Linked DNA regions of Homo sapiens: regions 1, 3 and 4 are each linked to region 2. The links are contacts of gene promoters, found by promoter capture Hi-C in human tissues and cell types (Jung and others, 2019). All regions are on one chromosome and are shown on one strand. The core of a region is centred on a gene start or on the middle of the fragment in contact, and the rest is flanking DNA. Distances in the headings are between cores, read along the strand shown. Region 1 overlaps CPQ (carboxypeptidase Q). Region 2 holds the start of SDC2 (syndecan 2). Region 3 overlaps CPQ (carboxypeptidase Q). Region 4 overlaps CPQ (carboxypeptidase Q).

The links. The method cuts DNA at HindIII sites, captures the fragments that hold promoters and counts their contacts. A contact is called where the count stands out against the background at its distance.
Region 1: a fragment that was not itself captured here is called in contact with the fragment with the promoter of SDC2 in region 2 in 1 of the 25 tissues and cell types used here (spleen).
Region 3: a contact is called between a fragment that was not itself captured here and the fragment with the promoter of SDC2 in region 2, in 2 of the 25 tissues and cell types used here (dorsolateral prefrontal cortex and mesenchymal stem cells).
Region 4: a fragment that was not itself captured here is called in contact with the fragment with the promoter of SDC2 in region 2 in 1 of the 25 tissues and cell types used here (spleen).

The regions. Positions count from the first base shown.
Region 1 is chr8:97,074,315-97,077,055 of GRCh38, forward strand. All of the region lies in intron 7 of CPQ (carboxypeptidase Q), which reads left to right. The region is part of intron 2 of LOC101927066 (a long non-coding RNA gene); the gene reads right to left. Among named protein-coding and RNA genes, the nearest start is that of TSPYL5, 200 kb to the right of the region's middle. The HindIII fragment of the contact is 6,919 bases long and covers 1-2,741 here.
Region 2 is chr8:96,492,187-96,495,157 of GRCh38, forward strand. It overlaps SDC2 (syndecan 2), which reads left to right and starts at 1,627. Exons shown (of 5, transcript NM_002998.4): 1 at 1,627-2,145. The coding sequence starts at 2,086. The HindIII fragment of the contact is 18,592 bases long and covers 1-2,971 here.
Region 3 is chr8:97,006,067-97,008,766 of GRCh38, forward strand. The region is part of intron 5 of CPQ (carboxypeptidase Q); the gene reads left to right. All of the region lies in intron 2 of LOC101927066 (a long non-coding RNA gene), which reads right to left. Among named protein-coding and RNA genes, the nearest start is that of TSPYL5, 270 kb to the right of the region's middle. The HindIII fragment of the contact is 9,233 bases long and covers 1-2,700 here.
Region 4 is chr8:97,043,958-97,046,657 of GRCh38, forward strand. All of the region lies in intron 6 of CPQ (carboxypeptidase Q), which reads left to right. All of the region lies in intron 2 of LOC101927066 (a long non-coding RNA gene), which reads right to left. Among named protein-coding and RNA genes, the nearest start is that of TSPYL5, 230 kb to the right of the region's middle. The HindIII fragment of the contact is 9,868 bases long and covers 1-2,700 here.

The sequences.
Region 1 (2,741 bases), core at 136-2,635, 580 kb after region 2:
TTGATTTAAAGATGAAAATAAGCTAAGGAACAATAAAAGGAAGTTTTTGGTATAGTACCAAGATAAATAACACATGCAGAATAACTGCAGGGGCACATAGGTCAGAAGACAAGAAAGACGTGGAAGAGAGGAGCTTGAGCTGGACATTGAAAGATATGTAGTATAAGAATGGACAGGCCAGGCACGGTGGCCCACGCCTGTAATCCCAGGACTTTGGGAGGCTAAGGCAGGCAGATCACCTGAGGTCAGGAGTTCAAGACCAGCCTGACCAACATGGTGAAACCCCCTCTCTACTAAAAATACAAAATTAGCCAGATGTAGTAGCGGGTGCCTGTAATCCTAGCTACCCGGGAGGCTGAGGCAGGAGAATCGCTTGAATCCGGGAGGCAGAGGTTGCAGTGAGCCAAGATTGTGCCACTGCACTACAGCCTGGGTGACAAGAGTGAGACTCTGTCTCAAAAAAAAGAATGGACAGAAGAGGGTAGAGAAGGACATTCCTGATGAGATAATAATATGAAAAAGGCAGGTGTCCCTGTGGGGCCGGAAAGGAAAGTGACACCACTTTCCTAATTCATCTTGCAGGGCAGTGGGCAATGAGAATAGGTGAGTACCTCTAGGCCAGATGAAAAAGAGTCATAAATGTCAGGTGAAAACTCTCATAGCTGATGCGAAGATACCGGAACGCTTTACAAGGAGAGGGATTAATCAAAGCAGTGTTTTAGAATGTAAATCCCTAAAGCTTGTGCATGCCTAGAGCATCCAGGTCACACTCAAGTAGAAGGCTCAAAGTAAGAACACTTAAAGGGAACGAGGAGCTTGAGGAAGTAGCAAAGGGTTGAAAACAATTGCTTTAGAAAATCAGATAATGACATTATGATGTTGCTCCATTGTATGTACTATAATGACCCATAAAACACTATTACTTAAGTCTCTGTACCATTTTCCGTGCCTTCTAATGACATAGCCTAGAAAAGTTTTCCTTTTCTATCTTCCCCTTTTAGGGTCTCAAGATTAGCTCTTCTGAGTTCCCCTTCTTATCCATAGGACTTTCCATCCATTTCACTTTACAAGTTCTCTAATTTATTTCTTATGTTACACTTTAATCAATGGGTAGCTACAGTGTATATAAATTATGGAGGATACAAAAATGAGATATGGACCCTTCTCTCCTGGAGCTCACAATTGAAAACTGATTTTGGTTAGCTTAATAATCGTGAAGATAAGAATAAAGACTTCATCACAGAAAACTAAATAAAGCTACATTAAAATTTCTAAGAAAAATATCTAAAATTACTTGAAAAGCCAGTGGAGTATAAAGAAGAAGGATTTCAAAATATGTTTTCTCCTTGTCAGCCATGTGAGATTTTTCTCTCTCTGCTTTAAATAATTAGGAAATGTAGAATTTATTTTGACTTGTTTTAATATATGAAGTGATTTTAAAGTGTGATTTTTTAAAAATGCTATTACCAAAACTTTCAAATGTATACAAAACTAAAATAATATCATGAACCCCCATGCACCCACCACTCAGCTTAAGGAGTTTTTCACTCATGGTCAGTCCTATTTCAGCCACACAGCAGCTACTCTCCTACACCCAGTTTATTTTGAAGCAGATCTCCAAAATCACATCATTTCATTTATAAATATTTTAATTTGTATTTCTAAAAGGTAAGGACTTGGTTTTATTTGTTTTTGTTTTTGTTGTTTGTTTGTTTGTTTTTTGTTTTTTGAGATGGAATCTTGCTCTGTTGCTCAGGCTGGAGTGCAGTAGCACGATCTCAGCTCACTGCAACCTCCGCCTCCCGGGTTCAAGTGATCCTCCTGCCTCAGCCTCCTGAGTACGTGGGATTACAGGCACACACCACCATGCCAGGCTAATTTTTGTATTTTTAGTAGAGATGGGGTTTTACCATGTTGGTCAGGCTGGTCTCGAACACCTGACGTCGTGATCCTCCTGCCTCAGCCTCCCAAAGTGCTGGGATTACAGTCATGAGCCACTGAGCCCTGCCAAGGACTCATTTTTATTTATATAACTACAATACTATTATTCTACCTAAAATATTTTACAGTGATTTCTTAATATCATATCCAATATATGGCCAGTTTTCAAATATTCCCAATTGTCTTCATACTTCTTTAAAAATAGTTTTCTAATGTAAACCAGGATTCCAATAAGGTTCAAACAATGCAGTTGGCTGATATATCCCAAGTTTCTTGTAATCTGTAGGTTCTACTTCCATCTTTTTTCTTCTTACCACTTATGTGTTACAGATGCCAAGTATTTGTCCTAACTCCATTTCCACGGCATCATTTGTCATGTTCCCCTATCCCTTGTATTTCCTGTGGATTGAGTTAAATCTAGAGGCTTGCCCTAAGTTTGATTTTTTTTAGCGGGGGAGAGGGAGTGGGCTAAAATGCTTTCTAGATGTTGCTGCTTGTTTTCATAGGCATAATGTCTAATTATCTCCCTTTTTATGACATTAGCAGCCTAGATACATTTGAAGTTGACCCTTGAACAACAGGGAGTTTAGGGGTGCTGAGCCCTGCACACAAAAATCTGCATATAACTTTTGACTCCCCAAAAACTTAACTACTAATGAGCTACTGTTGATCAGAAGTCTTTATGATAACATAGTCAATTAACACATATTTTGTAAATGTATTATATACTGTATTCTTATAATAAAGTAAGCTAGAGAAGAGAAAACTGTTAAGAAAAGCATAAGGAAGAGATACATTTA
Region 2 (2,971 bases), core at 377-2,876:
AGCATCATCTGATGTTACAACTTCTGGCCTATTGCTCTTTTTCTTCTTTCTCCTTTGCCTACTCTTCTATTTCTCCATATTACCTTTTTGTTGGCCAATGCCTTAGACTTGCTCATGAGCATTTGTAGGTTTGGTAGCTGGCACACAAAACCAAAGGAATAAGTGTCTCCAAGTTTGAGTTGTAATTCTCCAGTTAAATTTCTTTCTTTGAGATTTATTACAGTAATAGGTTACTAAGACATTTAATTCTCACTGAGGGTATGACTGTATTTTATTCTAATACTGAGTTGAAAAATTACCATGGCCTCATATCTATATATCTACATTGGTGTATTTTAAAGGCTCACAACTCTTATACGGTATAAATTGAGCTTTAGAGCAAAATTTATTCAAGATAATATTTATCATGTGTCTTTATGTACCAGGAATGAGAATACAATGGTGAACAGACAGAAAAGTCTCTGGTTTCCTGTAGTGGGCATTCCAGGAGCAGAATGGCGTCATAATTCATTTACTCTATAAGTCAGAGAGAAAAATGATGGCACGAACTGCAAGGGATTTGTGTGTAAAATTTGTGACAGTAAGAAAAAGAAACTGGAAGGGAATACGCATTTGCCATGTTCTATAATATGCCACAGACATTGTAACAAAATATTTCATGTCAGCTACTTCCATTTAGGAAATACATGTTCATTATTTTCTTCAAACTAAGAATTACTTTATCCCTCTTTTCTTTGAAGTTATCTTAAATCTGTTATTATTCAGGGTCTCTATCCAACTTCTCATCAAATTACCCTATTTGTAGCTTCCAAACGTTAACACCTATCTGCTAAAATGGAGCCTATAAAAAGCCTTAGTGGCATAAACTGTGTGTGAGGGAGAAATGGTATTTAAGCCCTTAATGAAGTTAGGAGCTTTCAAACTGTTGCACTTTGGGTTTACAGGATCCTTCCTCCATGTCCCTTTTTTGGGGGTGCGGAAGGATTTGGGAGAATGGGAAACACTCTCACTATATATTTATTACATTAATTATCTTCTCTTTTAAAATGCAATTTTCATGAACTGGCGATTTATGAACACTTCACATTGCTTGAAAGCATCTTACACTTTTTTTTTCCCTCAACTCACAAAGCAGTTTCTTTCTACTGGTCGAATTCTCAAGGCAGAAAAGCTACATACGTCTCTCGTTTCTTCACTAATTGTTCTCTAGAAAAGGGAAAGTGAAGAAGGGAAAGAGAAAAGACAACGGGGAAGAAAAGAGCATAGAGGAGAGAGGAAAAGTGGGGAGAGAAAGGAAGAAAAGGACTGAGAAAACGCAGGAGCCCTGGCTTGCCGGTGAGCAGAGCCGGCGCAGCCACAGCGCGGAGCCGCGGCGCCCACTGGTCCTCGGAGCTGCCAATCGGCGTGTAATCCTGTAGGAATTTCTCCCGGGTTTATCTGGGAGTCACACTGCCGCCTCCTCTCCCCAGTCGCCCAGGGGAGCCCGGAGAAGCAGGCTCAGGAGGGAGGGAGCCAGAGGAAAAGAAGAGGAGGAGAAGGAGGAGGACCCGGGGAGGGAGGCGCGGCGCGGGAGGAGGAGGGGCGCAGCCGCGGAGCCAGTGGCCCCGCTTGGACGCGCTGCTCTCCAGATACCCCCGGAGCTCCAGCCGCGCGGATCGCGCGCTCCCGCCGCTCTGCCCCTAAACTTCTGCCGTAGCTCCCTTTCAAGCCAGCGAATTTATTCCTTAAAACCAGAAACTGAACCTCGGCACGGGAAAGGAGTCCGCGGAGGAGCAAAACCACAGCAGAGCAAGAAGAGCTTCAGAGAGCAGCCTTCCCGGAGCACCAACTCCGTGTCGGGAGTGCAGAAACCAACAAGTGAGAGGGCGCCGCGTTCCCGGGGCGCAGCTGCGGGCGGCGGGAGCAGGCGCAGGAGGAGGAAGCGAGCGCCCCCGAGCCCCGAGCCCGAGTCCCCGAGCCTGAGCCGCAATCGCTGCGGTACTCTGCTCCGGATTCGTGTGCGCGGGCTGCGCCGAGCGCTGGGCAGGAGGCTTCGTTTTGCCCTGGTTGCAAGCAGCGGCTGGGAGCAGCCGGTCCCTGGGGAATATGCGGCGCGCGTGGATCCTGCTCACCTTGGGCTTGGTGGCCTGCGTGTCGGCGGAGTCGGTGAGTGGGCCAGGCGGAGGATGCGCGCGCCGTTTAGGGTGTTTGAAGCTACGAGAGGAGCCCGCAGGGAATAGGGGAGCGCCACCTGGGGAACCCCCAGTCCCCAAGTATACACCGGAGATCCGCTGGGACAAATGCGCTCGTCCGGTCACCCTTTCCCCCTCTTCCCTTCCTCAGAAAAGCGCTGCTCGCTGGCGTTACCCCGCGGTCCGCGGGAATGGGGGCACCGAGAATTGCGGTTTGGTCTAGCCGCAGAGGCCCCTGAAGTCACTCCCAACTTCTTCGCCCTCGGCGGGTCTTGCTGCGTGGTCTGGGAAGGACGGAGGGGAAAGGGTGGCAGGAGGGGGGAGCCTGGGTCGGGCCCGCGAGGGAACGGCTCCACTCCGCGCGCTCCTCGAGACCAGGGATGACCTGGAAACTTCGGGGTCCCTTCCTCCGCACACCATCCCCCCCGCGCCAGCTTTCCTGTTTGACTGCATGCAAGTTCTGGGGAGATGGGGGCCAGATTTAAGAGACCCGCGAGTGTCCAGAGAGAAAAGTTTGCAAAAGTTCTTTTGTTTGATGCTCCCTGCGGCTAGGGCGAGGTAACCGACACTACGTGGAATCGCAGTAGGCGATCCCTCAAGGGGATACTGGGGGAGGCACGGAACGCGTCCGAAAATGCTGGGACGCCGGCCACTGGATTCCCAGTCCTGCGGCGACCCCCTCCTCGTTGAGGGGTGGAGGTTGCACCGCGGGGCGTCAGGGACGGGAGGACATTTTCATAGGAGTTACACGGGAGTGCCGCAAGCAGGGCGAGGCGGGGTACGTGTGACACGGCGCTCGG
Region 3 (2,700 bases), core at 158-2,657, 510 kb after region 2:
GTGCTGCTAACAGAGACCATACAGTTTCAGCCAGCGAGTCTGCTGACTGAAATGAAGTCCTTGGACCTGTGGTTTTTTTGTGGGGTTATTTGCTCTTGTAGAATAAGGCTCTCAGAATTTCAATAAAAGGGTGAAAACAGTTTTGAAACTGAGAAGACTGTTACACTGCCTAAGAGGAATAGAGGTGTGATTGAGATGTGGTGAAAGAATCTGAAAGTTGAGTTGTTTTTTTTTAAGTCTCTTCCCGTGTCTATGTCCTGCCATTTCTTAGATTTATACAAACCCGACCCAAAAAAGGGTGTCAGGGGCTTGAATCCAGCAGGCACTCTCATACAGGTCTGTTATACCACTTCACCTTTTATAGTCAGTCGACAGGACAGGGGGAATTACTTAGTATACAAAGAAGTGCAAGGGAAATAAAACCTATGCAAATCACATTTGTAGCCTTCTAAATATTTGACCTATATGAAAAATTCCAGCTTTGATTTCTTAGTCCAAATTGCAAATCAGCCAAACGTAGCTGATTCTGTCCTATATGAATTGGTTATTACTGTCTTTCCCTTTCTTAGAACCCCTGGGAACAAACAAGAAAAAGTAAGGAAAACAAAATACTTATTAAAATGTAAATACAGTGGCTGGTTCCCTGATATGTTATGCTGACAACCCTTGCTGGCAACCCAGGAGGACCCAGGTGCACCAGGAACCGACTTATCTGGTCACAGAACATCGGGGGCTGGAAATTGACAGCCTCTGAAGGGGGCCTTTTGTTACTTGACTTCTGTGGCAGGTTGCTGGCTCATTCTCCTGCATGGAAGAGTTGAAACTCGTCTTTCAACTAAATGGAGTACATGAGGGCAGAGATTCTTTTTTGGTTTGGCAACCCAAGTATATTAGGAAAAAATAGGCACTGCAAAATAGCAGGAAAGCATGAAGAATGCTTTATGAAGAAACATAAAAGAAAACCAGAGGAAAGCATATTCAGCCTCAGTCATTAAAAAGCACACTACTGTTCCCAGTCTTGCCTTCTCCAAAAGTTTGTTTGTTTGAAGTTTCTTCTGCAGAACTCTAAGCAGGTCTCCAATATACCGACATCTTTAACAGCATTCTGGAATGAGAGGAGTGTCTATTAAGGGAGACATACTCCTCTATTTCATTTGGAATTTTACACAACAGTTTTCTGTGTGGCTTAATTTTTGGCATCAAATTGTTTTAACAGAAGCTGTGCTTTTCAGTTAGATCTTTATCTTTGAGTTCTAGTGTCCTCCCACGATGCCCCTAGGAGCCTATCAAAGCAGGCCAACCCTGCAGAAATGCCTAGAATAAAATAACATGCAAATGCCACTAAGAACTTGCTTCCCTCCTGACTCATATTTTAGTTTCTATAAAGTGTCTGTTTTCAAAACTGACAGTGTCTGTAGCCTGTTAATGGAAGATAATGATTTGCACACCAAAATGGGAGTAATCACAGGGCTATTTGACACTGTCCTTAGAAAAATTCCTTACTTACTCAAAAGCCAAAGCAAAGAACTATTTCTAAAATGACAAATGTGTGTAAATTTTCAAAGTGGATTGTGATTTCACCCAGGAAAACACAGGCAGCCAGAACACAGTTATGCTTTAGTGTATATGGTGATCTAATTCTTGAAATAAAACTTTATTCTGGGCAATAGCATGCATTTCTAGATGAGAGGAGAAATTGTTATTGCTCATAATAAAGGACGAAATGTTTTTCTTATTTGGGAACTTCAGGGGGATGAAGTAAGGAAGTGGGCTGCAGAACACTGGGATAAATCTTATTTATTTAACATTTAATGCTATAGTCTGTTAGGAAACAAACTCACTGCGGTATAATTATTTAATACTGGACAGTAAAATCATCTGCTAAGATTAGATTAAGTAGTTGACTCAAAGTACTCCCCAGGTTCAAGGCTCAAAAATGAATAAATCAACATGCTTACTGTACAGAGCCCTTGAACATTATGTGTGCTGGGATGGTGGCTTCCTGAACTATCGCCTCTTGTTTGGGTCTGTTGTGAAGTCAAGGCTTGAGGACATGACCTGACCTCTTTATTTAAAAAAAAAAATCCATTTAATATCAGTTATCACTTGAAGAATTTAAAGACAGAATTATTTGCTCAGAAAAATTTGATGCTTTGTGCTATTAAACCCTCAGTACACAGAAATAGATTTAAGCAACATGGTGGTGAATCAAGCCAAGGAGAGCTGGGAAGCTGGAATTGATGGCTCAGTATTCTCTGTAATAATGTGTCAATTTATGCCTGGACATTTTAGGATGTCTGTTTATACAAATGTGAACAAATGTACCTTTGACTTGTAGCCAGGGTGAACCCAGTGCCAAAAGAATAGCTCTTCTCTTAGACTGGGTTTCTCATTTTTTTCAGTTTTGTGACTGGCCTAGGGTGTATTTTCCTTATTGGAGCCTTGTGTTGTTGTCACCTTCATCCATGCCAGGTTCTCATAGGACTAATCCCCAAGGAAGTCATCCCCAGTCTACTGGGCACACTGAGGGAATCCACGTGTACAATGGAGGCTTAAGCTGTGAGCTTTGCTATCAGGAGAACCTGGCTTTAAGTCCTGTTTCTGCCCATTATTATATATGTGACCATAAGTGAGTTGCTTAACCTCTCTAAGCCTCAGCTTCCTGATCCATACAACAGGAAAAGTACTAGTACCTGCATC
Region 4 (2,700 bases), core at 177-2,676, 550 kb after region 2:
TGTCTTGGAGTTGCTCTTCTCAAGGAGTATCTTTGTGGCGTTCTCTATATTTCCTGAATCTGAATGTTGGCCTGCCTTGCTAGATTGGGGAAGTTCTCCTGGATAATATCCTGCAGAGTGTTTTCCAACTTGGTTCCATTCTGCCTGTCACTTTCAGGTACACCAATCAGACGTAGATTTGGTCTTTTCACATAGTCCCCTATTTCTTGGAGGCTTTGTTTGTTTCTTTTTATTCTTTTTTCTCTAAAAATCCCTTCTCGCTTCATTTCATTCATTTCATCTTCCATCACTGATACCCTTTCTTCCAGTTGATTGCATCGGCTCCTGAGGCTTCTGCATTCTTCACGTAGTTCTTGAGCCTTGGCTTTCAGCTCCATCAGCTCCTTTAAGCACTTCTCTGTATTGGTCATTCTAGTTATACATTCGTCTAAATTTTTTTCAAAGTTTTTAGCTTCTTTGCCTTTGGTTTGAATTTCCTCCTGTAGCTCGGAGTAGTTTGATTGTCTGAAGCCTTCTTCTCTCAACTTGTCAAAGTCATTCTCCATCCAGCTTTGTTCCGTTGCTGGTGAGGAACTGCCTTCCTTTGGAGGACGAGAGGTGCTTTGCTTTTTAGAGTTTCCAGTTTTTCTGCTCTGTTTTTTCCCCATCTTTGTGGTTTTATCTACTTTTGTTCTTTGATGATGGTGATGTACAGATGGGTTTTTGGTGTGGATGTCCTTTCTGTTTGTTAGTTTTCCTTCTAACAGACAGGACCCTCAGCTGCAGGTCTGTTGGAGTTTGCTAGAGGTCCACTCCCGACCCTGTTTGCCTGGGTATCAGCAGCGGTGGCTGCAGAACAGCGGATTTTCGTGAACTGCGAATGCTGCTGTCTGATCCTTCCTCTGGAATTTTTGTCTCAGAGGAGTACCCGGCTGTGTGAGGTGTCAGTCTGCCCCTACTGGGGGGTGCCTCCCAGTTAGGCTGCTGGGGGGTCAGGGGTCAGGGACCCACTTGAGGAGGCAGTCTGCCCATTCTCAGATCTCCAGCTGCGTGCTGGGAGAACCACTGCTCTCTTCAAAGCTGTCAGACAGGGACATTTAAGTCTGCAGAGGTTACTGCTGTCTTTTTGTTTGTCTGTGCCCTGCCCCCAGAGGTGGAGCCTACAGAGGCAGGCAGGGCTCCTTGAGCTGTGGTGGGCTCCACCCAGTTCGAGCTTCCCGGCTGCTTTTTTTACCTAAGCAAGCCTGGGCAATGGTGGGCGCCCCTCCCCCAGCCTCGCTGCCGCCTTGCAGTTTGATCTCAGACTGCTGTGCTAGCAATCAGTGAGACTCCGTGGGCATAGTACCTTCCAAGCCATGTGCGGGATATAATCTCCTGGTGCGCCATTTTTTAAGCCCGTCGGAAAAGCGCAGCATTAGAGTGGGAGTGACCCGATTTTCCAGGTGCCGTCTGTCACCCCTTTCTTTGACTAGGAAAGGGAACTCCCTGACCCCTTGTGCTTCCCGAGTGAGGCAATGCCTCGCCCTCCTTCAGCTCGCGCACGACGCACTGCACCCACTGTCCTGCGCCCACTGTCTGGCACTCCCTAGTGAGATGAACCTGGTACCTCAGATGGAAATGCAGAAATCACCTGTCTTCTGCGTCGCTCATGCTGGGAGCTGTAGACCAGAGCTGTTCCTATTCAGCCATCTTGGCTCAGTATTTCTTTTTTAAACCTGAATTATTTTCTGGGAGAGAGGCTCTTCCCAAGTGACCCAAAGATCATTAGGTCTTTGGGTATTCAGTAGCCCTTCTGGAAGTTCATCTTCTACTTCTGGTTACTGTGATTTTCTGTGCTTCCACGACACTAACACGTAAACATCAAAGAGTGGTCTCTCTAAGACAGCTTGAGGAGTGCACGAGCAGAAGTACTGGCAGGGCTGTTCATAAAGCCAATGCCAGAAAGCAGCTCCTCGCTGGCACATCCACTTTGTACTTTGAGACGCAGTATCCAGAAGCCAGGATGGGCAATACCCAAACTATGTTACTTTAAGGGCTGAAGATCAGGCAGGGAACTGAGCCCCAGAATTGTTAGACATTGTTGTGAGTGCAAAGTGAGCACTTTTGTCTTTCTTTCTGCTACTCATCTTACTTGATCATTCCTGAGTATATTAACCAAATCCTGTGGTGTCTTAAAGATACCATGTGTGCCCTGAGAGGCTGGTCTCGGTCTAGCTTTCTGATTTCCTTATCAATTGGGTCACATCTGTATTTTCTGCTGACTCACTTATGTGTGTAAAAAACACAAAGGCATACTTTTTTTTTTCCTAAGCAGATCGGAACTTCTATTCCTTTTTTTTTTTTCCAGAAGACCTCTCTCGTGTACTCTCATCAAATGCTTGTCCTACATTTGTAATTATTCATTCTAGAAGCTGAGGTTGCCCCTAGCAACCAGCAGTTTTGTCTAAACTGTTTTGGTTTCAGGGTTGTCTTAAAGGAGAGTTTCTCAAAATCCATTTCCAAAGAGCTTTTATACCCCACACAGCAAAACATGTATAAACAACAATTCAAATTTAGGGAGCTTAACAAGGCCTTTCAACAAAGGTTTAAAGTGGTTTCATCATATGATTTATTTAAGATTAAACAGAATTTCTGTTACTAGTTAAAACGGGAGTGTAATTTGCTTTTATGGATTCCTATAGTTTCATTTAATAAAACTCATCCAATCAGATGCACTCCCTC